Regions from separate parts of the Homo sapiens genome. Here regions 2, 3 and 4 are each linked to region 1. Evidence: promoter capture Hi-C in 16 types of primary human blood cells and fetal thymus (Javierre and others, 2016). All regions are on one chromosome and are shown on one strand. The core of a region is centred on a gene start or on the middle of the fragment in contact, and the rest is flanking DNA. Distances in the headings are between cores, read along the strand shown. Region 1 holds the start of RPS16 (ribosomal protein S16). Region 2 holds the start of IFNL3 (interferon lambda 3). Region 3 overlaps LRFN1 (leucine rich repeat and fibronectin type III domain containing 1). Region 4 has its middle 12 kb from the start of SYCN.

The links. Contacts are between HindIII fragments. The CHiCAGO score rates a contact against its expected background, and 5 or more counts as called.
Region 2: the fragment with the promoter of IFNL3 here is called in contact with the fragment with the promoter of RPS16 in region 1 in 1 of 17 cell types (neutrophils); the score reaches 7.8 in neutrophils.
Region 3: a contact is called between a fragment that was not itself captured here and the fragment with the promoter of RPS16 in region 1, in 1 of 17 cell types (neutrophils). The highest score is 5.0, in neutrophils.
Region 4: a contact is called between a fragment that was not itself captured here and the fragment with the promoter of RPS16 in region 1, in 1 of 17 cell types (neutrophils). The highest score is 7.2, in neutrophils.

The regions. Positions count from the first base shown.
Region 1 is chr19:39,434,124-39,440,990 of GRCh38, forward strand. RPS16 (ribosomal protein S16) reads right to left here and starts at 1,826. Exons shown (of 5, transcript NM_001020.6): 1 at 1,725-1,826; 2 at 1,484-1,585. The coding sequence starts at 1,772. RefSeq lists enhancers at 1,020-1,599, 3,263-4,031 and a silencer at 1,980-2,079. The HindIII fragment of the contact is 27,347 bases long and covers 1-6,867 here.
Region 2 is chr19:39,239,626-39,247,015 of GRCh38, forward strand. It overlaps IFNL3 (interferon lambda 3), which reads right to left and starts at 5,381. Exons shown (of 5, transcript NM_172139.4): 1 at 5,163-5,381; 2 at 4,792-4,869; 3 at 4,383-4,532; 4 at 4,199-4,282; 5 at 3,928-4,105. The coding sequence starts at 5,342. The coding sequence ends at 4,007. It also overlaps the pseudogene IFNL4. The HindIII fragment of the contact is 30,036 bases long and covers 1-7,390 here.
Region 3 is chr19:39,302,363-39,309,448 of GRCh38, forward strand. It overlaps LRFN1 (leucine rich repeat and fibronectin type III domain containing 1), which reads right to left. Exons shown (of 5, transcript NM_020862.2): 5 at 4,204-6,180. The coding sequence ends at 5,271. Among named protein-coding and RNA genes, the nearest start is that of IFNL1, 9.5 kb to the left of the region's middle. RefSeq lists an enhancer at 5,465-5,966. The HindIII fragment of the contact is 8,108 bases long and covers 665-7,086 here.
Region 4 is chr19:39,212,843-39,220,245 of GRCh38, forward strand. No RefSeq gene overlaps it. Among named protein-coding and RNA genes, the nearest start is that of SYCN, 12 kb to the left of the region's middle. The HindIII fragment of the contact is 6,255 bases long and covers 1-6,057 here.

The DNA.
Region 1 (6,867 bases), core at 576-3,075:
TAGTCGAAAGCCATCCCTGGACTGTTCAGGTGCCTTTTCTATTTCCCACCTGAGCTCTCTGCCCTTTCTTTGAGCCTCACAGGTTTCCAGAATTACAGTACAACCTGTCCCTGGTCCCTAGACCCTTCCCAGCTCCAGGTCTTTTACCAGTGCCTCTGTCTGGATACTTCCTTTACCTGCTTTCAGCTCACAGGTCTCCTTCCCCAGTTCTGACCACTTTGGATCAGCTTCTGGTATTGGGCCCAGTCCTTCTCCCCAACTAGGCTGGCAGGTCCATGAAGGCAAGACCTTAAGTCATCTGGATCACTGCTATGTCCCCAAAACTCAACAGAGGGTACACATACAAATCCTTCAAATACAGTGACAGCCAATAACAGTAACATTCAACATCTGCTACACAAAGGAAATCTCAGAATTTTTATTAAATTCTAGGCCAGGCATGGTGATCACACCTGTAATCCCAGTCCAGGCAGAAGGATCACATGAGACCAAGGACCAGCCTGGGCAATAAAGTGAGACCCCACGTCTACAGAAAAATATTTCTCAAATGAGCCAGGCGTGGTGATGTGCCTGTAGTCTTGGCAACCGAAAGGCTGAGGTGGGAGGATCTCCAACTCAGGAGTTTAAGGCTGCAGTTCATTAGGATTGTGCTATTGCACTCCAGGGTAGGTGACAGCAAGATACTGTTTTTAAAAAAGAACCTTATAACTCAAAAAAAATTTTTTTAACTGACCCTGCAATGTAGATATTCTTTCTTTTAAAAGTAGTAGAGTTCAGAAGGGGCAGAAATCAGACTCTGGTTTCTTTCCATTCTGAGCCAAAGAAATTGAGAGTCCCAAAAAGGGAACAGAGGAACCCCTTTTACAAGCAAGCATTTAAACAGACCCAAATTCGGCCGCACACGGTGGCTGACGCCTGCAATCCCAGCACTTCGGGAGGCCGAGGCTGGTGGATCACCTGAGGTAATGAGTTCGAGACCACTCTGGCCAATATGGCGAAACCCCGTCTCTACTAAAAATACAAAAATTAGCCGGGCGTGGTGGTGCATGCCTGTAATCTCAGCTACTCAAGAGGCTGAGGCAGGAGAATCGCTTTAACCCGGGAGGCGAAGGTTGCAGTGATCCGAGATCGCGCCACTACACTCCAGCCTGGGCGACACAGCGAGACTCCCTCTCAAAACAAATAAATAAAATAAAAAATAGTCGGTGTCCCTTCACCCTTTGGGTCCCCCCGCCCCAGTGAGGTGAGCTTCCTAACATCCCAGTTCTCAAAGCAAACCCTTAATCTTCAACAACCCCATCTCAGCTTTTACATCTTCTGAACCCCAAGCCCAGCTCTATTGCCAAATACCCCACTGTTCTACACCCAACACAACTTCTAAACATCCCGTTGCTGATGCCAGCCCCCCCAGCTTTCAAGAGCTACAACATCTCTGTCTCCAAGAGTCCTCCATCCACTCAACGCCGGTGCCGGATCCCAGCACCTTGTACTGTAGCGTGCGCGGCTCAATCATCTCCAGGGGCCGCCCGTTCACCTTGATGAGACCATTGCCGCGTTTGCAGTGCGCCACAGCTGTCGCTGTCTTCTGTAAGATACAAGAGAAACAGGGGCCCCGTGAGCTCCGGCTCCAGCTCCCATGTTACCCCCTAGATTCCTGCCCACCGACCTCTCCCAGACCCTGGCCTTCTCCTTCCCCTCCCCTTCCCATCCGGCGTCTGGCTCACCTTGCGTCCGAAGACCTGCACAGACTGCAGCGGGCCCTTGGACGGCATGGCTCCGAGCGTGGACTAGACAACCTCACCGCGCGGCGCCGCAACCGGAAAAGGAAAGCTAGGGGCCACCCTGGCCGCTTTTCAGGGTCTGCGCAGGCGCCTTGAGCACTGCGTCGCGACGGGAGAGAGCTTTACGGCTTCTGTTGCGGCTAACGGGCGGGGCGTCTGGTCAGCGGCGGGAAGGCCCTTAGGCGCTCAGAGCGGGCGGGCCCTGTGAGGCGGAAGTGGCGGGCTCTGTGGGCGGAAGGGGCGGGGCCTGGGAGTGTCGTGTGCGGACTGAAGGGAAGGCTGCGGGAGTGTGCTTCGCGTCCTCTGTAGTCGACTACCGCAGCTCTTCTTTGCATTCTGGCTCTTTAATAATCTCCCTTCGCCCTTTCTTTAAATCAGTTCCCACCCTCCCAACACCTGTAATCTTTCTCCCCTCTGGACTCCCTCCTCCCCGAATCCCCCGCATCAGAATCTTCCTTTGGAATCTACTGCAAGAAATCTGGCTGGATTCTCAGATTAAGGACTTCCAGAATCCTATCCTCCCTAGAATCCCCCTCCTTGGGGATCCTCTCCCAGAATCCTTTTCCCCTCAGAGCCCCTTCCCCTCAGAATCTCCCTTTCACCAGAATGTCCTTCCTTTCAGTTTCCTCTTCCCAGAATGTTTCCCATCCTTCTCTCAGATGGCCAACCCCAAATGTCCCTCTTAAGAGTGCTCAACTTAGACCCCCCTTTTCCCTGAATCTCCCTCCATTCGGTCCTCGTCCCCTCAGTCACCCTTCCCAGAATCTTTCTCTTGTCAGGACCCAGTACCCCTGGAATCTCCCTCCTCCAGAATCTCCCTTTCCCGGCAAATCCCCCTTTCCCGGCAAATCCCCCTTTCCCAGAACACCCCGCCCCGCAAATCCACAAAAACTTTTCTCTCAGAGACCCGTCCCTCAAAATCTACCTTTCTCCTGAGTTTATTTCCCTTCCGAGACTCCTCTTCCCAGCAACTGCCTTCCCTGGAGTTTTCCCTCCGTTAGAATCCCCCTCTCCTAAGAGACCCTCCCCCAAGAATTAACCTCTTCCCCGTCCCCACCCTAGAATCTCTCTCTTTTTTTTGAGACGGAGTTTCGCTCGTTGCCCTGGCTAGAGTGCAGTGGTGCGATCTCGTCTCACTGCAACCTCCGCCTCCCGGGTTCAAGAGATTCTCCTGCCTTAGGCTCCCGAGTAGCTGGAATTACAGGCGTCTACCACCACGCCCTGGTCGTTTTTTGTATTTTTAGTAGAAATGGGGTTTCACCACGTTGGCCAGGCTGGTCTCGAACTCCTGACCTCAGGTGATGTGATCCGCCTCAGCCTCCCAGAGTCCTGGGATTACAGGCGTGAGCCACCACGCCCGGCCGAATCTCTCTGTTTTTTGTTTTTTTTTTTTCTTTTTTTTGAGACAGAGTCCTGCTCTGTCGCCCAGGCTGGAGTGCAGTGGCATGATCTCTGCTCACTGCAACCTCTGCCTCCCCGGTTAAAGCGATTCTCCTGCCTCAGCCTCTTGAGTAGCTGAGATTACAGGCATGCACCACCACGCCCGGCTAATTTTTGTATTTGTAGTAGAGACGGGGTTTCACCATATTGGCCAGACTGGTCTCGAACTCCTGACATCAAATGATCCACTCATCTCAGCCTCCCAAAGTGCTGGGATTACAGGCGTGAGCCACCGCGCCCAGCCCCTAGAATCTCTTTCTCCAGAATCTCCCAGTCATCTTTTTCCTCTCCCCCAAATCACCCTCCACTTAAGCCTCCTCCCCACAGAATTCTCCATCCCCAGCCCCCCAACCCCACCTGAGGAACCCCAGGATTGGGTTGTCCTCTGGTTCCCCGGCAGATGTCCCTGCGTCTCACCCCATCAAGAGTCTCCCCAGCGAAGAGGTTCCTCTCTCAGAGCTAGAGGGAGCCCACAGTTGCCTCAGTTTCTCTGGCAGTACAGGGTCTGGGATCCAGGGTTCAAAAGGGCGTCGTGGTGCACCTTGCCAAAGAGGGTGGAGACAGGGAGACACTGGAGGGCAGGTCTGGGGCCAGAGGGAAAAGCCAGCCCGGAGTCCAGCTCTAAAAGGGTGAGGGGGGAGGGGGCTGTTGGGAGGGAGGAAGGAAGTACCCAGAGGCTGACCGGGAGGGACACAGACACAGCCCAAAGAAATGTAGGCACAAGTGGAGAAGAAGAGAAAGATGAAAGGCCAAGGGAGAAGAGGAGGAGAAAAGGGAGAGACCAGGACAGTCAAGAGATGGACCCCCAAAACAAGCCCAGTGACAGATTTAGAGGCAGAGAGGCCAACCCTCAGACAAAAAAGAGATAAAGGCAGGCATGATGTTTCCAAAATACTTGAGACAGAGGCCAGGTGCAGTGGCTCACACCTATAATCCCAGCACTTTGGGAGGCCAAGGCAGCAGGATCACTCGAGCCCAGGGTTCAAGACCAGCCTGGCCAACATGGTGAAACCCCGCCTTTACTAAAAATACAAAAATCAGCTGGGCATGGTGGCAGGTGCCTGTATCCCAGCCACAAGGGAGGCTGAGGCAGGAGAACCGCTTGAACCCGGGAGGCGGAGGTTGCAGTGAGCTGAGATGTCGCCACTGCACCCTAGGCTGGGCGCCAGAGCAAGACTCTGTCTCAAAAATAAATAAATAAATAAACTCTGTCTCAAAAATAAATAAATAAAATAAAATAAATAGAGCAGAGACCTCAAATATTCACTTGCAGACACAGATAAAGGCTAGCACAGGTGTTTTCCAATGAAGACACAGGCAGATGAGAGGATGCACACATTCTACCTGTACTTTTTCTTTTTTTTTTTTTAAATTGAGATAGAGTCTGTGTCACCCAGGCTGGAATGCAGTGATGCAATCTGAGCTCACTGCAACCTCCACCTCCCCGGTTCAAGTGATTGTCCTGCTTCAGACTCTGGAGTAGCTGAGATTACAGATTCTCCTGCTTCAGACTCCTGAGTAGCCCAGATCACGGGCCTCCACCACTATGCTTGACTAATAATTTTTCTTTTTTTTTTTTGAGATGGAGTATCGCTCTGTCGCCCAGACTGGAGGGCAGTGGCTTGATCTCAGCTCACTGCAACGTCAGCTTCCTGGGTTCAAGCAATTCTCCTGCATCAGCCTTCCAAGTAGCTGGGATTAAAGGCATGCACCACCATGCCCAGCTAATTTTTGTATTTATTAGTAGAGACAGGGTTTCACTATGCTGGGCAGACTAGTCTTGAACTCCTGACCTCAAGTGATCCACTTGCCTCGGCCTCCCAAAGTGCTGGGATTACAAGTGTGAGCCACTGTGCCTGGCCACTAATTTTTGTATTTTTTAGTAGAGACAGGGTTCCATCGTGTTGGCCAGGCTGGTCTTGAACTCCTTACCTCAAGTGATCCGCCCACCTCGGCCTCCCAAGGTTCTGGGATTACAGGTGTGAGCCACAGCGGTTGGCCTAGCCTGCACTGTCTTAAGGGCCTGTTGGGCAGGGGAGTTCAGGTTCTCTCGTCTCTCCAGATTGATCTTCACACATTTGCTAAGTCTCGTATCGTCCCTGAGCTTGGGAGTCAGGGAGCGCTCTGACCTAAGCCCTCCTGACTTTGGGGTCACCATCTTTCCCCAGCCTCTATGGGCACACTCCCTGAATTATCTGTGGCTTGAGTGGAGCAAGCAGGGGATGGGATGAGGGGTGGCGGGGGAGTTCCCCTCATCCACTTCAGCCTTCCAGTCTGCTCCCCCTTCCTGTACCTCTCTCTTCCAGAACCCCAGGCCAAGCACCAGAGAAGGCCTGGGAGTGAGCAAGGTGCCCATGTTGCTTCTGTGGATCATCCTCCTGCTTGTACAGCCCTGGGAGGGCCTAGGAACGCCCGCCCCTCTGCTGGAGGGAGCCTTTTTACTTCCTTGCAGCCCTCTGAAGATACCAGCGAGTGGGGAGCAGAGCCAGCAGACGGGGTGGGCCAATTGATGGGGCGTGGTAGGGGGTGTGTTTGAGGAAGGGTCAGCCTCTTTCCCTCCAAGATCTGATTCTCCTCCTTACCCCTGAACTGTAGGAAAACAAAAATGATGACACCCTCTACACCCCAGATGATCTCTCAGTGAGTATTGCATTCGCTTCTTTCTGCAGTTGCAGGTTTTGAGAGAATTCAGTGGTCTCCATGTGTGAGGGCTGCTGTGTGACCATATGAATATGTTGCGGGGAGGAAGTAGTGGGACTATCTCCTGACCCAGCCCCTAGCCTTGACAGATATATTTTGCTCACTGCTGTCTCCAACACCTAGAATAGGGAGGTATATAATAACAAATGATGATGATGACTACAGCTGCATGTAAATAGTGTTTACTCTGTGCCAGGTATTGGTTTAAATGCTTTAAGTATGTTAGCTTATTTACTCTGTACACCAATCCTATAAGATAGATAGGACCACCATGTATGGATGTGAATGTTGTACACTGCACAAGGATCCCACATCTACAAAGACAGTACTATATTCACAGGCTGGATATTGTAGATTTGCATATTTGCCAACTTGCGGCAGATGGCAGTAAAGTATCTTGTTCTAATAAAATCAAGACTTAGAAGGTAGAAGGAACTTAAGGAAGGTCTTTTTATTTTCTTTTTTTTGAGACAGGGTCTTGCTCTGTCCCCTACGCTGGAGTGCAGTGGCACAATCACAGCTCACTGCAGTCTTGACCTTTTAGGCTCAAGCAATCCTCCCACCTCAGCCTCCAGAGTAGCTGGGACCACATACACGTGACACCACAAATAGCTAATGGCTAATTTTTTTTTTTTTTTTTTGAGACACAGTGTTGCTCTGTTGCCAGCTGGAGTGCAGTGGCGTGATCTCTGCTCACTGCAACCTCTGCGTCCTGGGTTGAAGCAATTCTTCTGCCTCAGCCTCCCGAGTAGCTGGGACTACAGGCATGTGCCACCATGCCCAGCTAATTTTTGTATTTTTAGTAGAGACAGGGTTTCACCATGTTGGCCAGGATGTTCTCGATCTCTTGACCTCGTGATCCACCTGCCTCAACCTCCCAAAGTGCTGGGATTACAGGCGTGAGCCACCGTGCCCGACCTTTTTTTTTTTTTTTTTTTTTTTGTAG
Region 2 (7,390 bases), core at 4,131-6,630, 190 kb before region 1:
ATTTTTGTATTTTTAGTAGAGATGGGGGTCTTACCTTGTTGGCCACGCTGGTCTGGAACTCCTGACCTCAGGTGACCCTCCCACCTCAGCCTCCCAAAGTGCTGGGATTACAGACCTGAGCTACCGTGCTGACCAGAGGTATTGAGTACTTTGAAGATACTTTTCTGAGTCCTTGGTCACCTGAATTCTGCCCATCCAGGGAGTCCCTTGAGGAAACCTGGGGGCTGATCTTGCCATGTGCACATGTGCTCCGAAACCCTCTTGCCCCTCCATCCTCAGCATTATTAGATATGGAGACTAGTACTGGCCACCAAACCCAAGACTACATTCTCTAGCATCCTGCATGCTAGGGATGACCATGTGACTAACCCATCACCACCATCTAGGCCTTAAAACACAGGGTGGGTGGTCCCTGCTCTGTTTCCTATTGTCACCACTGAAAAACTGGACATGTCTGAGAGCCGAATCCTGCTGTACAGGTGAGAACAAACTCCAGGACAGGGCTTCTAACCTGGCAGAAGAATTCCTGGGCCTGTGGATTTGGAAGGGCGGAAAAACTATGTGTATTCTCACTAACCTCTGTCTGAAATTTGATATTTCCTGAATGTATGTTTCTTACACCTGCTGTAACAAATGACCCCCAACTTAGTGGGGTAAAACAACTCAGACTTTCCAGGGATGGATAGACGGATGGGCAAAATATAGTCTACACATATGATGGAATATGATTCAGCCTTCAAAAGGCAGAAAATTCTGGCCGGGTGCGGTGGCTCCCACCTGTAATCCCAGCACTTTGGGAAGCCGGAGCAGGAGGATCGCTTGAATCCAGGAGTTCCAGATCAGCCTGGGCAACATACTGAGGCCTCGTCTCTATAAAAAATTTAAAAATTAGCCAGATGTGGTAGCACACATTTGTAGTGCTGGCTACTCAGGAAGCTAAGGCAGGAGGATCACTTGAGCTGAGGAATTTGAGGCTGCAGTGAGCTGATTGCACAACAGTACTCTAGCCTGGGTAACAGAGCAAGACCCTGTCTCTAAACTTAAAGACAGAGAGAGAGAGTCCAGGCGCGGTAGCTCATGCCTGTAATCCCAGCACTTTGGGAGGCCAAGGCCAGTGGATCACCTGAGATCAGGAGTTCGAGACCGACCTGGCTAACATGGTGAAACCCCATTTCTACTAAAACTACAAAAAATTAGCTGGGTGTGGTGGCAGACACCTGTAATCCCAGCTACTCGGGAGGCCGAGGCAGGAGATTCACTTGAACCCAGCAGGTGGAGGTTGCAGTGAGCCAAGATCGCGCCACTACACTCCAGCTTGGGCAACAAGAGCGAAACTCTGTCTCAAAAAAAAAAAAAAAAAAAAAGAGAGCAAGAGGAGGGAAGGAAGTTCTGACACATGCTACAATAAAAATGAACTTTGAAGACATTATGTCAGTGAAATAAGCCAGTCTCAAAAGAACAAATGCTGTATGATTCCCCCTACATGAGGTGCTGAGAGAAGTCAAATTCCTAGAAACAGACGTGTCTAAATATTTGCCGGGGTAGCGGGAGGGGTTAATAGGAAGTTGTTGTTTAATGGGTACAGAGATTCAATTTTGTAAGATGAAGAGAGTTCTGGAGATTGCTTGCCGAACAATGTAGCAAACACCACTAGGACCAGACCTGTAATCCCGGCACTTTGGGAGGCCAAGGGGGGCAGATCACTTGAGGTCAGGAGTTCGAGACCAACCTGGCCAACATGGCAAAACCCCATCTCTACTAAAAATACAGTAATTAGCCAGGCATCTGACTGGCTAATGGCACACACCTGTAGTCTCAGCTACTCAGGAGGCTGAGGTGGGAGGATCACTTGAGCCTAGGAGGTCGAGGCTGCAATGAGCTATGATCATGCCAGTGCCCTCCAGCCAGGGTGACAGAGCAAGGTCCTGTCTCAAAAAAAAAAAAATAGAATAAATAAATAATAAAATTGCACTACTGAACAATGTGCTTTAGAAAGGATAAGATGGTACATTTTGTGGGTTTCCCACAATTAAAAAAAATATTTAAATTACCTGAACAAAAAGAACAAAACAAAATGCATGCACATTTCTATTCCTACAGTTCTGACAGTCAAGATGTCAGCAGAGCGGGTTCCTTCTGGAAGCAGCAGGGGAGATCTCTCTCCTTTCTCAGCCTCTGGGGGTGTCCAGCATCCCTTGACCCCGGTTCCCTTCCTGACATCACTCCAATGTCCTGTTTCTGTGGTTACATCTTCCGCTAATGATGCTGACCCCGGCCTCCTTCTTAGAAGGACTTTTGTGATGACATTGGGTCCAGGTGGACAACCCAGGATAACGCCCCCATCCCAAACCCTTAACTTACTCACATCTGCAGAGTCCCTCGTGCCATGGAACATAACATATTCCCAGGTCCAGGAATCAGGAACATCTCTGGGGACCAGTCTTGCATCTAGCACGAATCCATTACAAATGCAGCAACACACCACAGCAGTGTTAGCAGAACTTGTGACTGTTACCAAAAGAAATCACAGGCATTTCCTATCACGTTATCTTCCAGCAGGCACCTTGAAATGTCATTTATGCTCATCTCTGCTTCTAAGTCACAGTGGTTATTAAAGCTGCCACAGGTGATTTTTTACTTAATGCATTCATGAAGAAGCACATGAATTGCTATGTCACAGTGTGAAAAAATATTTTGATCACTGTATTACAATCAGAGTTGGATTCCTTTGTCCTGCACGTGTTCTTTCCTTCTGAGAAGGGTCCGTAGGCTTTTCAAGGCTGCCGTGAGGTCCGGTGGGTGAAGATGATGAGGGAGCCCTGTCCCGGGGACTGTGGAGCACAGAACTGCCAGGAACCAGGGCCCCTGGATGACTGAGTGGGGCCATCCTGCCAGGGGGAGCGCTCACCTTGGGAGGAGGAGCTGGTGGAGAATGACACTCTGTGGTTTGTAATTCATGATCACTGTATTTGGGGGACTCTTTGTTCCAGCAGCTCAGCCAACTCTACTCAGCAGGGGTCCCTGATCCAAGTTGTCCTCCTCATCTGTAGGGGCTTATCCAGGGTTAGTGAGACCTCATGTTTGCTTATACAATTCAGGGGCTTCTTGGAAAGAGAATGGGCTGGACCCGGTGACTCAAGCCTGTAATCCCAGTTCGGGGAGGGGCTGGAGAGGGTGGAGGATGGTGCCGAGGAGAGAGAATCACTTGAGCCCAGGAGTTTGAGGCTACAGTGAGATGTGATCACGCAAGAGACAGGATCTTGCTGTTGCTCAGGCTGGTCGTGAACTCCTGACCTCAAACAGTCCTCCCATCTCAGCTTCCACCAGTAGCTGGGATTATGGGCTTGTGCCACCACACCCAGCCAATTCTCTAATTTTTTATAGAGACAGGATCTTGCTATGTTGCCCAGGCTGGTCTGGGCTCAAGTGATCCTCCCAACTCAGCCACCCAAAGTGCTGTGATTACAGGCTTGAGCAATCACATCCAGGCTCTAAATTAATTTTAAAGATGCTTCATTTCACCCAATACATCCAAAGTGCTATCATTTCAACATCTAATGAATATATAAATTATAATTAAGCTGTTTTACTTTTTTTTTTTTCTCCACAGTAAATCTTCAAATTCTGGGGTATGTTTTACACTCACTGAAAAAATGAGGTTGCACCACCTACATTCCAGGTGCTCGATAGTGACATGTGACCTGGGGACCCCAGTGGACAGCACAGACTCAATGAACCTGCTGTTCTAGATGCTACTTTTAGGGTAATTTGTTATGGCAGCAATGCAAAGGAAATACACACCAACGCACACACAGTCCCACGTCATGGGTGTCTTTTCCTCATTGTTTATTTCAACAAGGATTTCAAAAAGTAGAAAAATAAACATTTTCCTGGAGGTGAGTTGGATTTACATACACAAATACATAAATAGCGACTGGGTGACAATAAATTAAGCCAAGTGGCTAATTTATAAATAAAATCTCAGGTTGCATGACTGGCGGAAGGGTCAGACACACAGGTCCCCGCTGGCAACACAATTCAGGTCTCGCGTGAGGAGGCGGAAGAGGTTGAAGGTGACAGAGGCCTCGAGGCAGCCAGGGGACTCCTGTAGGGAGGAGGGGATGGGTCAGGGGCTGTCTGGGTTCTGGGCTCCCAGTGGCTCCCCAGACCTCAGTCCCTCTCTTCCCGGGTCACTCACCTTTTTTGGGGCCTCCTGGAGCCGGTGCAGCCAATGGTGGAGGCGGCCCCGGGTCCTGGGCCCTGCCGTGGGCTGAGGCTGGATCTGTGGGCAGAGGAGGGCGGTGTGTGAGCCGGGGCCTTGGCCAGGGGAAGGACGCTGCTCAGAGCTCACAGACCTGGGTGCCCGGGCCCTGACGACTCACACAGGCCCGGAGCTGGGAGAGGATATGGTGCAGGGTGTGAAGGGGCTGGTCCAAGACATCCCCCAGGGCTGGGTCAGTGTCAGCGGTGGCCTCCAGAACCTTCAGCGTCAGGGCCAGCTCAGCCTCCAAAGCCACGGGGCGCTCCCTCACCTGAGGAGAGGTGAGAAAGAGCAGGTGAGGGGGGAGGTGAGGGGAACAGGTTGGGGGAGGAGGATAGAGAGGAACAAGTGAAGGTGACAGGCACAGGGGAGAGGGCACAGCCAGTGTGGTCAGGTAGGAGCAGAGGGAAGGGGTAGCAGGTGTGGGGAGAGGAGAGAGGGACAATGGAGAAGGAGAAGGTGAAGGGGCCACTACAGAGCCAGGTGAGCAGGGCTGGGAGGGCAGGGGTGGGCCTGACTCCCCCTCTCACCTGCAGCTGCCTCAGGTCCCAGGTCCTGGGGAAGAGGCGGGAGCGGCACTTGCAGTCCTTCAGCAGAAGCGACTCTTCCTAGACAGCAAAGGCACAGGTTAGCCCCAGCAGGAGGGGTGGAGGTTAGACCACTCTGATGGGATTGGAGGATGGCTGACAACAGGATAGGGGAGGTTAACTGCTGGGAGGATGGTAGAGGACCCTCTTCTTCAGGAAAACATGAGTCAGTCCCTGCAGTAGGAGCATGAGATAGCCCACTGCAGGGAGGGTGGAGGCTAGCCCAGTGAAGGAAGCTGGGAGTGGGAAAGCATGGTGACCCTTGGAGTGCGGGTGGAGGCTAGTCCATGGCAGGAGGGCAGGGGGAGACTCACTAAGGCATCTTTGGCCCTCTTAAAGGCCTGCAGCTCCTGTGGAGACAGGGACTTGAACTGGGCTATGTGGCAGCCCCTTGCATCCGGGAGAGCCCCGCGGAGCCTGGCGACAGGAACTGCTCCAGTCACGGTCAGCACTGCGGCCATCAGCACCAGCACTGGCATGCAGTCCCCGGTCATGTCTGTGTCACAGAGAGAAAGGGAGCTGAGGGAATGCAGAGGCTGCCCACTGAGGGCAGGGGCTGCAGGAGCTGAGCACGGACAGAGATGTGGGACTCACCTAGTTTCATTCCTGATCTCTGGTCTTTGTCAGCAGAAGAAACACTCTGAGGCTGTCACCCAGGGTCTGTTTGGGTCTTGTCTGGAGTCTCTGTTCTTTTCAGTCCCCTCTTCTGGATCTCAGACTGTGTCCTGGCTTTGACTCTTTCTGTCAGTTTTGAGCTCTGTCTGGGATGTAATTCCTGCCTGAGCTCCATGGGGCAGCTTTTATCCCTGACAGAAGGGCAGTCCCAGCTGATGTAGGAAAAGTGAAAACACAGCCTCAGGTAAGACACCGGCCACCAGGGGAGCCCCAGGCTGGGAAAGCCCAGAGCAGGGCAGGGCTAGTGAGCCAGATGAGCAGCTGGAGGGAAAGAGAAACTGATGGAGACTCAGGGGTAACCTACAGGAAGGTATGTTCCCAAGAGGATTCCACCTGCTCTGGTTTTGTTGTTGTTTAAGACAGGGTCTCACTCTGTCACTGCAGTGCAATGGCATGATCACAGCTCACTGCAGCCTCAAACTCCTGGGCTCAAGCCATCCTCCTCACCCAGCCTATTAAAGTGCTGAGATTACAGGCCTGAGCCACCACTCCTGGCATATATATATATATATATATATATATATTTTGAGACAGGGTCTTGTTCGGTCACCCAGGCTGGAGTGCAGTGCAAAATCTTGGCTAACTGCAACCTCCGCCTCCTGGGTTCAAGCAATTCTCTTGCCTTAGCCTCCCAAGTAGCTGAGATTACAGATTTGTGCCACCATTCCCAGCTAATTTTTATATTTTTAGTAGAGATGGCGTTTCACCATGTTGGCAAGGCTGGTCTCAAATTCCTGATGTCAAGTCATCTCTCTGTCTAGGCCTCCCAAATTGCTGGGATTTCAGTGTGAGCCACCATGCCCAGAGGCCAATATTTCTTAATTGCCCAGGCAAGGAAGGACTCAGGAATATGAGGCTCTGCTCAAGAATTGAGGTGTGACGAAGGACTTGAAGGACACCACGTGGGTGCCGTCTTTCTTAGGGAAGTTCAGGCAGTGGTGAAGAGCATGGGTCTTGGAGATGAAGGGTCTGGGGTTCAAACCTGGTTCTGACCCTCACTAGCCGTGTGACCTTGGCAAGGAGGGGTGCATTCAGCAACGCAGATTGCTAATGCACAGATTTGGAGAAAAAATTAATAACACAATTGTTTGTGTATTTATGTGAGTGATTATTTAATAGAATCCACTCATTAAGACCATACTAGGACCTCAGCTGGAGAGTTTAAAACGTGATCTCAACGGACACTACTCCTCCACAAGGCAAGTATGCTAACCCATCCTATAGGTGAGGAAACAGAGGCTCAGAAAAGTAATTTGCCCTGAATTCCACTGTAATTAACTGGCAGGGTCAGAACTGAAACTCAGGCCACCTGAGTCCCTGGCTCGGCCTCTTTTTTTGCTGTAAGGTGCACCTCACAATCATCATACGGAAAACAACCAATGCGATCAAAACACTCTTTGATAACTGGCAATAAATTTAAACCGGGAGACAGAATAGCAAATGCACAGGAACTTCACAAATACAAACACACGTAAGGGAATCCAAAGAACCACAGTCGGTTAAGGACCCTTGGGCCTTTCACTACCAAATCCCTCATGGATTGGTGTCCCTTAGATGCCGGATCCAAGAGTCACGGATTCACAGAATCTCAAAGCTGGCTGTGGGGCTACAAATCCGGGGTTAGGACCTGGTGTTGGGGGTGTCCTGGTAACCACACAAGGAGGAACTGGTCCCTGTTGCCTGGGGTCAGCCACGGTTTCCAGAGCTCAAGTTTTTTCCTGCCACAGCAACCGTTGGAGGGTCGTACAATGCACCCCGAGGAAATATCGTGGCTTCCTGGAGAACTGTGGTCTCTTCCCTGTAGAAGGACCCGCTCCTCTTATATCTGAGACAGTGGATCCAAGTCAGGCCCAAGGCTGCGAAGAAG
Region 3 (7,086 bases), core at 3,469-5,968, 130 kb before region 1:
ACAGTAACAAGTTTTCCTTGTCCTCTCTCATGGTGGCCTTTGCTTAAGTGGTTCCCTCTGCTTAGGACAGTTCCCACCACTCTCCCACGACCAAGTCTTCACCTGGCTCATTTCCACAATATCACTTCCTCCTCCAAAAATCCTTCTGCATAGTACACCGGGGTTTCTATTGCTTTATTTTTTATTTTATATATATATGTGTGTATATATATATATATATGTGTATATATATATATATATGTGTGTATATATATATATATTTGTGTATATATATATATATATATATTTTTTTTTTTTTTTTTTTTTTTTGAGACAGAGTCTAGTTCTGTCACCCAGGCTGGAGTGCAGTGGTGCGATCTTGGCTCACTGCAACCTCCACCTCCCAGGTTCAAGTGATTCTCGTGCCTCATCCTCCTGAGTAGCTGGGATTACAGGCACCCGCCACCATGCATGGCTAATTTTTGTACTTTTAGTAGAGACAGGATTTTACCATGTTGGCCAGGCTGGTCTCGAACTCCTGACCTCAGGTGATCCACCCGCCTCAGCCTCCCAAAGTGCTGGGATTACAGGCATGAGCCACTGTGTCCAGCCTCTATTGCTTTTATATGCTCAACAAGCTTTCTTATTTTTTTTTCTTTTTTGAGACTAGCATATTACAGCAACAAGCTTTCTTTGTTTTATTTTTTTTTAAGATCTTGCTCTGTCATCCAGGCTGGAGTGCAGTGGCTCAATCATAGCTCACTGCTGCCTCAAACTCCTGGGCTCAAGACCACCTCCTGAGTAACTGGGACTACACGTACACACCACCATGCTTGGCTAATTTTTTATTTTTATTTTTGTAGAGACAGAGTCTCGCCATGTTGCCCAGGCTGGTCTCAAGCTCCTAGCCTCAAGTGATCATCCCACCTTGGCCTCCCAAAGTTCTGGAATTACAGGTATGAGCCACCACACCCAGCCAACAAGATTTCTTATCCTACTTTTTCTGGAGAGTATTTACCTTCAACCACATAAAATTGCCAATACTATACAATGTGTGACCTACAAAAATGGCAAGTTCATGTGGTTCAACCTAATATTTAGCAATCCCTACTTCCCAGGACACACAACCGGGACATAGGACCCACCCACCCCCTACCTGGCCAATCAAAGCATTCCATTCATTCCCTTGGATGCGGCAATCAGTGCAGGGGTTGCTATGTGACCTCGGCCAGGCCGATAAGAGCTCTTCCCTGAGATTTTTCTCTTAGGACTAGAGATTCTGCCATTTTATCTCTGGGCTCTGGAAAGATTGAGTCTGTGTCTGTAAATAAATGACCATTTTCCCCCGCCACATGCAGTTGAAAGGGATGAGTCTGAGCTGAGCCAAGCAGAGAAGAGAGCTGTGTAGGGAGAGTGTCTTGGTGGGGTTGAGTCTGGGTTCCTTTCTCTAAAGCTCTGTTCCTTGTAGCTTTGCAATCACCCCACAACTTTTTCTTTTTTTTTTTATTTTTGAGACGGAGTCTCACTCTGTCACCCAGGCTGGAATGCAGTGATGTAATCTCAAGTGATTCTCCTGCCTCAGCCTTTCAAGTAGCTGAAATCACAGGCACCCACCATGCCCAGCTGATTTTTGTATTTTTAGTAGAGATAGGGTTTCACCATGTTGGCGAGCCTGGTCTCGAACTCCTGACCTCAGGCGATCCTCCCACCTTGGCCTCCCAAAGTGCTGGGATTACGTGTCAGTCACTGCACCCACCCCCAATTCTGTTTTGAAGGTAGGCATACCTCACCCCAAAGCTGGGGTCTCCATAGAAATCAGACCACATACCACCCCTGGTAAAGACCCTTCATTGGCTTCCCATGGCCCCAAAGAATAAAATGTTAACTCTTGACCACACCTCACAAGGTTCTGTAGAACCCACTTGCTTCTCCCACCTACTCTCCTCTCACTCTTCCCACTTCAGTCCAGACACACTGCCTCCAACACATCAAGCACACTACTTCCTAAGGGTCTTTGCACATGCTGTTCCCTTTGCCAGGAATGCTTTTCCCTGCTTTTCTCACAATGCATTTATTTAGCTCTGTCATCACCATCCTTCACCCTCCCACCTAAAGTAGGCCTCAAAGTCATTCTCTATGCCATCATCCTGTTTTCATTCTTGGCACAACATTTATTTGCCACTGGACATGCATTATTTACTCGTTTTTGTTTGCTTGTTTTTTGGGTCTCACTCTGCCACACAGGCTGGAGTGCAGTGGTGCAATCAGGGCTCATTGCAGCCTCAACCTCCTGGACTCATTTAATTGCTTATTTGTTTATTTCTCCTCCCTCTAGAATATAGGCACCACGGAGCAGGGCTTTCTTGTTTTGTTTCATCTATTTTGTTCACTGCGATAGCCCCTACATAGGACCAGTTACATAATACATGCTCAATAATGCTTTATCAAGTGAATTAGAGACAAGATTCCTGATGGTTCTGTGTGCAGGTTGGAGGCAGTCAGCTTTCCAATCATGGCTCTGCTGTTAACTGGCTGTGTGATCTTGGAGATGCTCCTTAACCTCTCTGAGCTTCAGTTTCCTCATCTTGAAAATTGTGTGCACACACTGCATATACCTGTGCAGGCTTTAAATGCAGTCATACTTATTATTGGAGTAACTCCATTTCCTAAGCATTATGTGCCATGCACTGGGTTGCATGCTCTTTATCCGTGCATCAGGGAGGGTTTGGGAGCACTGTGCCTGGCTTGTGAAAAGCCCTCAGTACCTAGGAGTCGTCATGACTGACACAAATGAGGGTGGTTGGGCTCCTGGGTGAGGAAGCCTCCTGGCCTGTGATTCTCTGGTGCCTCTGTCCTAGCAGCCTCCCACCCTGTCTGCCTAGATCCATCCCCCTCCCTCCTGCTCCGTTTCTATTTCTGTCTTTCTCTCCTCCTCCCCTGGCCTCAGGGGGCCCCTGGCTGGCAAGAAGCCTTCCTCCTTCTTCCCCAAGATCAGGAAGGTGTTATCACTGCAGGGCCCCTGCAAGGACTGGGATGTCTGTCCCTCTCCTCTCCCCAACCAGCTTTCCTTCCCCAGCCACAGCCCTCAGCCTCACCTGAGAAACTCCTCTCCCCACACCATCCTCCATGCCCTCCGCCAGGGTCCCTCAGATTCCAGGCAGAGCGACACAAGAGGTCTTGTCCCTGAGCTCACCAGGCTAGCTGTGGATATCCAAGCTCAGCTAAGCTCATGGGGGCCATACCCCAGCTTCCGGACACAGACCCCAGAGGCAGCATAGTGTAGGGGTACAATCAAACTTCCAGCTCCGCTATTTATTCATTGGGGGGATGGAGGGACTACGGCAAGTGACTTCATCTCTCTGTGGTTCAGGTTCTTGTCTGTAAAATGGGACCAAGGATAGATCTACCCTACCCCACTGAGTTGTGAGGTCTCAGAGGGTGGAATGAATATTCAATAACTGCTCAGCAGTACAGTGCTCTAGTTGAGTATTAAAGGAGTTCAGGGAATGTCACCCCAAAATATGGCACCCTGGTATGCTGATTATTTTAAATTAAAGGCACTTAGAGATCCATAGATGCTGGAAGAGGCTTTCCTCCTATGTCTTCTTATCTGCCTAAAGATCAAAAAGAACACAAGTGCCTTCTGTCCTCTCCCTGACATTTCATTATCTTTAACAGGAAAAAAAGACAGAGAAATGTCTACACCTGGACGGACTTTGTCACAAGAAATTATCTGTCTGTCAGTCTCAAATTCCAGAGACATTTACAAGCTAAATTCTATCTCCTGGACCCATTTATTTTCCCCAAAATCATTTATTACCCCTCAAAATTGCCTTCCTTTCCCCATCTCCCCTCCTGTGAAGAAAGGTATATAAGTATATAAACCTCACTGGGTTATTGGGTAATCACTTTCCTGTGATTTTCCTAGTGCATGTTAAATACCCTCCATATTCCTTTTCTCTTGTTAATCTATTGTCAGCCCATTCCAGTGAAATTTCAGAGAGTGAAGGGGAAGCTGTCTTTTCACCCCTATAGTAGAGACTCAGAAGTTGGCCTGCCTGCCTTTTTAAATCCCAGTTTTACCACCTTGGGCCAGTTATTTAACTTTTCTGGGCCAAAATTCCCTCATCTGGAAAACAGGATAATAATACCGATATGTCCTGGTGTTGTGAGAATTAAATGACTTAAGTGCTTGGCACATAGTAAGTAAGTATTCACTAAGCGTTAGCTATTATGATCATTTTATTTTTGTGATTATTCCCCACCTCTAAGTCTCTCAGAGGATAAAAGCCTGTCTGCCAGTCTCCTCCGGCCCCAGTTAGTCATCTTCCCATCTTCCTTCAGTCTCACTTAGAGTCCTTATGCTGCAATCTAGGTCACCCTCCCCCAACACACACACACACACACACACACACACACACACACACACACTACACGCGGACACACATACAGACACACACACAGGTCAGCAGGGCCTCAGACACAGAAAAAAGTTTAATTCTGCTGCGGCGGAGGGTCCCGGCTCCGGTAGGGAGGGGGATTTGGTTTTGGATTTTGTTCGTGTGGGGATTTATTTGGGAGAGTCTGGTCCTTCCAGTGGGACCTGCCCGGGAGAATGAGTAAAGAGAAGAAATCAGGAGAGACAGGGAGACTAGACAAAACCAGGGAGGGCCGAGGGACAAGAGACGACAGGACAGAGAGAAAGGAGAGGCAAATAGGGAAAGACAGGCACTACAGAGAGACGACAAGAGGGCGGGATAGAGACAAACGAGGGAAACAGAGAAAGGGGGACCCCAAGCCAGACCCGACCGGACCAGGAATGTGCGTGGGGTGGGGTGGGAGGCTTTGGAGGCCGCCGCGGGACAGAATAGGATCTAGTCCAGCCAGATACAAGAAATGGGCCCCTCGCCCCGGCCCCGGGTGACGGGCTGGGGGAGGGGGCTCGTGTCTCAGTGCTGCAGTGTCAGGGGGCCCTGCCCCTCCCCGCGCTTCGCTGTGTAAGGCACCGGCTCCAGCGAGGTCCGCGAGCGCGCGAGGGGAGGGGTAGGAGGGGGGTCGAGGAGTCCATAGGGGAAGGGAGGCCGGCAGCCGGTCCCCGAACCCCGCCCTGGGCACGGGGGCGTGGCCTCGAGCCGCAGCCCGAGGCTGCCCCGCCCCCTCCCGGGGACAAGGGCGCGTCTCCACTCTGGTCCAATGTCTTGGCGCTGCGCTTTCTCCCAGTCCCGCCCCAGCGTCCGTGCGGCTGGGCGTTTGGTCTGCGGCACCCAGGCGTCCCGGCGCCCGCCCGCCGCTCACACGGTACTCTCCAGCATCCACTCGGTGCTGGTGAAAGCCAGGCACGCCCTGGCGGAGCCCAGCCCCAGGTCTCCATCCTCCCCGGCCGCGCCCCCTCCAGCCCCGTCCAGGTGCGGCGTGGACCGGTGGCGCTTTGTCCGCCGGGCGCGGCGCGGGTAACTGTGGCTCTGGAATAGTGCCCCGTAGTCCCCGTCGAACGAATAGCGCTGCTGCGGCCTCGGCCGGGCCGCGGCTCCCCCAGGAACTAGAGCTAGAGTAGGGGGCGCCGAGGTTGGTGGCTCCAGGGCGCCGGATCGGCTCCTTCGAGGGCCCACCGCGGCCCGAGACTCCTCCCCGGAAGTTTCCTCGGATGGCAGCAGGCACAGCGAGGTGGCCGAGCCGCCCAGAGAACGTCCAAGGACCACCTCCGGCTCCGCGGATGCCGTCTCGGCCTCCATGGCCTTGGCCTCGACGGCGACGGCGGGGGCAGCCTGGGACTCCACCTCGCGCAGCGCCTCGTAGTGGTCCTGGGCCGGCAGGGCCGGGGCCTGTGCCGCGCCTGTGCCTGCGCCGTTGGTCTGCGAGCACACGTGGCTGACCCGCGGGAGCGACCTGGAGCCCTTGACGCGGCGGCTGTCCCCGTCGCCATACACCTTATAGCGGATCATGAGCAGAACGATGAAGACGAGGACCGAGGCGACGATGACGCCCCCGATGGCGATGATCATGGTGCCGCCCAAGAAATGGGCCCTCAGCGGGCGGCAGGGCGCCGGATCCCCAGCGGTGGTGAACTGTACACAGCCCACCACTCGCGTTGCCGGCAGCGCTGTGGCCCCGTCGTCGTAGACCGCCAGCACGCACAAGTCGTAGGCACGGCCCGCCGCCAGGTCATTCACCAGGAAGGTCTGACTGGTGGACGGGATCATCCTGTAGGAGGGGGCGGGTTCAGGGCGGGGTTAGTCCCCCCGAACCACGCCCCTTCGCTTTATGCCCCGCCCATGGTGAACAGTGGGGACTAAACCCTGCTATCGAAGTCTCAGCCGCTACTGAGACAACAGCAGCAATTCAAGCCCCGCCTCCATCAACATATTCCCACCCTTTCACACCCCTCATCTGTATGCCCCGCCCTCAGACCCACCTCCTGGCTGTGTCCCATCACCCACTGGGACAATATATCTATCATTCGTATTACCTCCTCTGCATATCCCGGCCCCTGCAGGGGAGAAGTGCTATGGCTTTTAAGCCCTGCCCTCAAGGGACATGCTCCCTAGCTATGTCTCACTCTTGCTAGGACAACTGCCATTCAAGGTCCTTCATCTAGGCATTTCTACCCCAAAACTGGGCCAACGCTACTGGCCACCTCCCCTTTTCTGCATGCCCCATCCCCCACTCAGGTGGACACTAAGGTCAGCTCACAGCGCCTGTCATATTCCTACTGGAACAATGGATGCTCTTCTAGTTCCTCTTTTATACATATTCCTGCCTTTCAGGGAAAACCATGATGCAGGTCGCTCCCCCTTATCTGCATGCAGCACCTTTGGGTAAAACATCTAGCTTTGGCCGGCTGCAGTGGCTCACGCCTGTAATCCCAACACTTTGGAAGGCTAAGAAGGGTGGATCACCTGAGGTTAGGAGTTCAAGACTGGCCTGGCCAACATGGTAACCCTGTCTCTATTAAAAATACAAAAATTAGCCAGGCGTGGTGGCAGGCACCTGTAATCCTAGCTACTCGGGAGGCTGAGGCAGGAAAATCGCTTGAACCCGGGAGGTGGAGGTTGCAGTGAGCCGAGACCACATCATTGCACTCTAGCTTGGGCTACAAGACCGCAAGAC
Region 4 (7,403 bases), core at 1,680-4,179, 220 kb before region 1:
TCTCAGAGACTCCCTCATTTTTTCTTTTCTTTTTTTTTTTTTTTTTTTTTTTTTTTTGAGATAGAGTCTCGCTCTGTCACCCAGATTAGAGTGCAATGGTGCAATCTTGGCTTACTGCGACCTCCGCCTCCCAGGTTCAAGCAATTCTCCTGCCTCAGCCTCCTGAGTAGCTGGGACTATAGGTGCACTCCACGATGCCCGGCTTATTTTTTGTATTTTTAGTAGAGACGAGGTTTCACCATGTTGGCCAGGCTGGTCTCAAACTCCTGACCACAGGTGATCCACCGGCCTCAGCCTCACAAAGTGCTGGGATTACAGGTGTGAGCCACCACGCCTGACCTCATTTTTTCTCTATCAGTTTTGATTTATAATTGCAAAACTTTTTTTTTTTTAGATGGAGTTTTGCTCTTGTTGCTCAGGCTGGAGTGCAGTGGTGCAATCTCGGCTCACTGCAACCTCTGCCTCCTGGGTTTAAGTGATTCTCGTGCCTCAGCCCCCTGAGTAGCTGGTATTACAGGCACCCGCCACCACACCTGGCTAACTTTTGTATTTTTAGTAGAAACAGGGTTTCACCATGTTGGCCAGGGGCTGATCTCGAGCTCCTGACCTCAAGTGATCCACCCGCCTCAGCCTCCCAAAGTACTGAGATTACAGGCATGAGCCACCGCATCTGGCCTTATAATTGCAACATCTTTATTAGACTCTTCGCCAATGATAACTAACAGTTGGCTTTGTGGGTTCGGGTTCTCCTATTGTACATTTGTTTCTTTAATTTGATCTTATTTCATTAATGATAAATAGCATTAGTTACCATTGTGGATTTGGTTATTATACCTTTTTTTTGTTTGTTTGTTTTGAGTTAAGGTGTTGCTCTGTCACCCAGGCTGGAGTGCAGTGGTATGATCACAGCTAATTGCAGCCTCAACCTCCTGGGTTCAAGCAATCCTCCTGCCTCAGCCTCCAGAGTATCTGAGAATGTGCCACCATACCCAGCTATTTTTTTTTTTTTTTAGTACAGCTGGGTCTCACTCTGTTGCCCAGGCTGTTCTTGAACTCTTGGGCCCAAGCAATCCTCCTGTCTCAGCCTTCCCAGTAGCTGGGACTATGGGTGCATGCCACCATGCCCAGCTAATATTTTTTCTTTTTGTAGAGATGGGATCACTCACTGTGTTGCCAAGCTGCTTTCAATCTCCTGGGCTCAAGTGATCCTCCTGCCTCGGCCTGCTAAAGCACTGGGATTTCAGGGGTGAAGCGCTGCTCCCAGCCTATTATATCTTTCATGCTTGCTTTCTTTATTCTTTTTTCCTTTGAGTTTTTTGTTTGTTTGTTTGTTTGTTTGTTTTTGAAACGGGGTCTCGCTCTGTCATCCAAGCTGGAGTGCAGTGGTGCGATCTCAGCTCACTGCAACCTCCGCCTCCCAAGTTCAAGGGATTCTCCTGCCTCAGCCTCCCAAGTAGCTGGGACTACAGGCATGTGCCACCATGCCCAGCTAATTTTTTGTAGTTTTAGTAGAGATGGGGTTTCACCATGTTGCCCAGGCTGGTCTTGAACTCCTGACTTCAAGTGATCCACCCACCTTGGCCTCCCAAAGTGCTGGGATTACAGGCATGAGCCACCATGCCTGGCCCTTTTCTTTGAGTTTTGCGTGCTGTTCTTTTCCTCACATTTAAGATAGATGGTTAGCTGGCTTATTTTCAGCCTCGTTCCTTTTCCCACATTTGTATTTAAGGCTTTACACTTTTTTTGTGGGATTGTTGTGTGTCTTACATAAGCAAAAAGTATAGTGGGTTGAGGTTATTTCAGGCACATGGAAAGTGCTCAGTGTGTTTACTGACATGGATGATGGTTTTGATTATTATTTAATTTATTTATTTATTTTGAGACAGAGTCACACTCTGTTGCCCAGGCTGGAGTGCGGTGGCGCGATCTCACCTCACTGCAACCTCCACCTCCCGGGTTCAAGCAATTCTCCTGCCTCAGCCTCCTGAGTAGCTGAAATTATAGGTGTGCACTACCACACCTGGCTAATTTTTGTATTTTTTAAAATAGAGATGGGGTTTCCCTATATTGGCCAAGGTGGTCCCGAGCTCCTGATGTTAGGTGATCCACCTGCCTCAACTTCCCAAAGTGTGATTATTATTATTCTTATTAATCAGGAGCTTTAGAGTCAGAGAAAGATTCAAGCAAGAAGTTTGGATTAATTATGAATCAGTTTCCTATTGCTGCCGTAACAAATGATTGCAAACAGTGCTTTACAACAACACAGATTCATTATCTCACAGTCCTGGAGGTTGGAAGTCCAAAATGAGTCTCCTTTGGCTAAAATCAAGGTGTCATCGGGCTGCCTTCCTTCTGGAGGCTCCAGGGGAGAATCCTGTTTCTTGCATTTTCCAGATTCTAGAGGCCACTTGCATTCCTTAGCTTGTGGCCCCTTCCTTGTTGAAGTCAGCAACAGAGAATCTTTAAATCCCTCTATGACTCTGTCCTTTTCTGCTGCCTGCTCTTCCACTTTAAGGGATCCTTACAATTACTCTGGTCCTACCCACATAATCCAGGATAATTTCCTTTGTTGTTGTTGTTTTTTGTTTTAAAGACACGGAGTCTTACTCTGTTGCCCAGGCTGGAGGGCAGTGGTGTGATCACCACTCACTGCAGTCTTGATTACCCAGGCTCAAGCAATCCTCCTGCCTCAGCTGCCTGAGTAGCCGGGACTACAGGTATGCACCACCACACCTGGCTAATTTTTGCATATTTTTGTAGAAACAGAATCTTGCTATGTTGCCCAGGCTGGTCTCAAACTCCTGGGCTCAAGTGATCCTCCAGCCTCAGCCTCCCAAAGTGCTGGGACTACAGGCATGAACCACCGCACCCAGCCTAGAGTCCATGTTTTTAGCCACTCAGCTCCAGGATACACTGAGCCTGGTTGCATAGTCAATTTCTTTTCTTTTCTTTTTTTTTGAGATGGAGTGTTGCTCTGTCGCCCAGGCTGGAGTGCAGTGGCATGATCTCAGCTCACTGCAACCTCAGCCTTCCAGGTTCAAGAAATTCTCCTGCCTCAGCCAGCCTCCCAAGTAGCTGGGATTACAGGCACGTGCCACCATGCCCAATTTCCTTATTTTAAAATCAATGGGACATGCGTGGTGGCTTATGCCTGTAATCCCAGCACTTTGGGAAGCCGAGGCGGGCAGATCACTTGAGGTCAGGAGTTTGAGACCAGCCTGGCCAATATGGTGAAACCCCATCTCTACTAAGAATACAAAAAATTAGCTGGACGTGGTGGCATGCACCTGTAGTCCCAGCTACTCAGGAGGCTGAGGCATGAGAATCGCTTGAGCCCGGGAGACAGAGGCTGTAGTGAGCCAAGGTCACACCGCTGCACTCCAACCTGGGTGACAGAGTGAGACTGTCTCAAAAAAATAAAATAAAATAATGATTAGTGACTTTAATTCCATCTGCAACCTTAACTCTTCCTTGCTGTGTAACATAATATATTCGCTAGTTCTGAGGACACCTCGGGGGGCTGTTATTCTGCCCAAAAATTAGTATTTTGTTTTACAAATGAGGAGTATTCTTGTCTTTCATATGAAGGGAGACAGCTACCAAGGCTGTCTGGGGCTCCAGTGTCAGGGCCCAGGCTCCTTCTGTCTTGTTGCTCCAGCATCAAATGTGGCTTTTTCTTGTGGCCCAATATGGCTGCTTGAGCTCCATCCTTCCCATCTACATCCCAGTCAACATGTGGAGGAAGGGAGGGAGGGAAGAAGAAGGAAATGCTCTTCCAGGAGCATGGTACATGACACTCCTGTCTACATCTTGCTGCCAGAACTTAGCTAGAGATGGGCACTCAATGCCTCAAAAAGATGGATCTAGGCCAGGCGCAGTGGCTCACACCTGTAATCCCAGCACTTTGGGAGGCCGAGGCAGGCGGATTACGAGGTTAGGAGTTCAAGACCAGCCTGGCCAAAGTGGTGAAACCCCATCTCTACTAAAAATACAAAAAATTAGCTGGGCATGGTGGCAGGTGCCTGTAATCCCAGCTACTCAGGAGGCTGAGGCAGAAGAATTGTTTGAACCCAGGAGGCAGAGGTTGCAGTGAGCTGAGATCGCACCACTGCACTCTAGCCCGGGCGACAGTGCGAGACTCCATCTCAAAAAAAAAAAAAAAAAAAAAAAAGATCTGGCCTTGGGTTAGCTGTATGCCTGGTCACAAATCAAATTTCCTATTACTGAAGGAAGAACAGATATTGAGGCCATGTCACAGATTGAAGGAATAAGAAGCACATTGAAGGGATGACAGAGTCAGAGAGGACATAGATGTCCAGGAAAAAGTGGAATCCAGCCTTTCTACAATCTGGGTACAGTAGAAAGAAGGGGGGTGTGGTCACTGATAATGGCTTTCAAGATATCCCGGAACCTGTGGGTGACCTTATTTGGCAAAAGAAACTTCACAGACGTGATTGAGTTCAGGATCGTTCAATCAGAGGTTGTCCTGGAAGATCTGGGTGGACCCTAAATGGAATCACTAGGCTCCCTAGAAGAGGGAGGCAGAGGAAGATTTGGCTACAGAGGAGGAGGCAAGGTGAGGATGGAAGCAGAGGTTGGAGAGATGTTATTTGAAGATGGAGGAGGCCACGAGCCAAGGAACGCAGGCCAACACTGGAAGCTGAAAAGGTCGGCTGAGCAGGGTGGTTCACACCTGTAATCCCAGCACTTTGGGAAGTCAAGGCAGGCAGATCACTTGAGGCCAGGAGTTCAAGACCAGCCTGTCCAACATGGCGAAACCCCATTTCTACTAAAAAATACAAAAATTAGCCAGGCATGGTGGTGCATGCCTGTAATCCCCTCTACTCTGGAGGCTGAGGCAGGAGAATTGCTCGAACCCAGGAGGCAGAGGTTGCAGTGAGCTGAGATCGTGCCACTGCACTCCAGCCTGGGCAACAGAACAAGACTCCAGCACAAAAAGGAAAAAAAAAAAAAAAAAAAGAAGCTGAAAAGGTCAAGAGCATGGATTCTCCACTGGGGCTTCCGTAAGGAACCAATCCTGCTGACATCTTAATTTTAATCTTGTAAGACCCAAGTCAGACGTCTGACCTCCACAGCTGAAAGAACACATCTGTGGTGTTGTAAGCCACTAAGTGCATTGCCATTGGTTACAGCAGGCACAGGAAATGAAAACAGTAACTCTGCCCTAAAATCTCCCTTATTCCCTAAGAGATATAACTGGGGGAGGAGATCCCCTGCGAAGGTGGGTGTTGGCTGAAGTCCTTCAGGGAACCAAAATGATTCTGGGGGGCTGGGAGAGGGGACTTCCAGTAGGCAAGGGGCAGATTCGAGTGACTGGTGTCACTTTGCTCAAAAGTAGTAGTAGGCTGGGTGTGGTGGTTCACACCTATAATCCCAGTACTTTCGGAGGCCAAGCCAGGAGGATTGCTTGAGCCCGGGAGTTTGAGACCAGCCTGGGCAACATAGTAAGACCCTGTTGCTACTAAAAATTTAAAAATTAGCCCGGTGTGGTTGCTGTAGAGAGGGAACAGCCCCTGCTACTGGGGAGGCTGAGGTGGGAGCATCACTTGAGCCCAGGCGATCCAGGCTGCAGTGAGCTATAATTGCACCATTGCATTCCAGCCTGGGCAACACAGCAAGACCCTGTCTCAAAAAAAAAAAAAAAAAGAAGTAGTAGTAATAAAAAGAATGATAAAAATGGCAGTAATAAAAAGAATACCAATAACAACTACCGGCATGTGCATCTTTATTGCATGCCGGACTCTCCGCTAATAGCCTTACACACGTGTTCTTTTATCTTCATAGCTACCCTATGGGACAATGAGTCCATCAAAATGGGCTGCATTTTCCTGCAGTAACAAATGACCTCAAGTCTCAGCGGCTTACGCCTGCGAAGGCTGATTGCCTGCTTACACCGTGTGCTCATCCCAGGACACTTTGGTGCTGTGCTTGTCATTGTCCTCACCCAGGCTGAGAGAGCAGCTAATCCCTGGCTCATTGCCAGTCTCTGATCCCAGGGAAAAGCAGGTGGGATAGGCACCGGCACTTAGTGCTTAAAGCTTCATTCCCAGATGACACAGGTCACACCACTCTCTCCCTTTTTTTTTTTTTCCTTTCTGAGACAGAGTCTTGCTCCGTCACCCAGGCTGGAGTGCAGTGGCGTGATCTTGGCTCACTGCAACCTCCACTTCCCGGGTCCAACCGATTCTCCTGCCTCAGCCTCCCAAGTAGCTGGGATTACAGGCACACGCCACCATGCCCTGCTTATTTTTGTATTTTTTAATAGAGACGGGGTTTCACCATGTTGGCAAGGCTGGTCTCGAACTCCTGACCTTGTGATCCGCCTGCCTCAGCCTCCCAAAGTGCTAGGATTACAGGCGTGAGCCACCACGCCCAGCCACATTTTAAAATTTTACAAGTGACTTCATAAAGTAGATGAAAACGTTGCCCTTGTGGAGATTACACTCCAGTAGAGGGAGACAGGCAATAAACAATTTAAAATAAATGTAGTTGCCAGGCACGGTGGCTCACACCTGTAATCCTCGAAACTTGGGAGGCTGAGGCGGGCAGATTGCATGAGGCCAGGAGTTCGAGACCAGCCTGGTCAACATGGTGAAACCTCATCTCTACTAAAAGTACCAGAAATATTAGCTGGGTGTGGTGGTGTGTGCCTGTAGTCCCAGCTACTCAGGACACTGAGGCATGAGAGTTGCTTGAACCCAGGAGGTGGAGGCTGCAGTGAGCTGAGAATGTGCCACTGCACTGTAGCCTGTGCAACAGAATGAGACCCTGTCTCATAATAATAATAATAATAATAATAATAATAATTGCAGTGATTGAATGCCATGCCCAGTAGGTGCTATGGAGACAAGTACAGCCGGGAGGGAGGATGGAGTGAGGCGGGTGCCCTTTTGAATAGCGTGATCAGGGGACCCTCATGCAGAAGCATTTGGTCGAAGACTCGAGGAGGAGAAGGAGGGAGACATGGTGATACTGGGGGAAGAGCATTCGAGGTAGAGGGAACAGCCAGTGCAAAGGAATATTTGAGGAATAGCAAGGAGTGGACAGAGGTAGACGGAGAAAGGGAGGAGATGAGGTCAGAGTGGTCACAGGGGCAGGTCATGGGGGCCTCACGTAAGGTCTTTGTCACTAAATATATAAAGTGAATGATTCGGGTCACTCCCTTTACCCTGAGTGACATGGAGCCATGGGCAGATTCTGAGCAGGGGAGGGACATGACCTGCCTCAGGTGTTCACTTCTGGACATCAATGTCATGGGCTTAAAACAGTCACATGGCCAGATCCAACATCAAAGGGCACAGAAGTACACTCTGCCTTTGGCAAGTCCGTGGCGAGGGTATAGATGGAGGGAGGGGTGAAGAATTTGCATCAGTAACTGGATC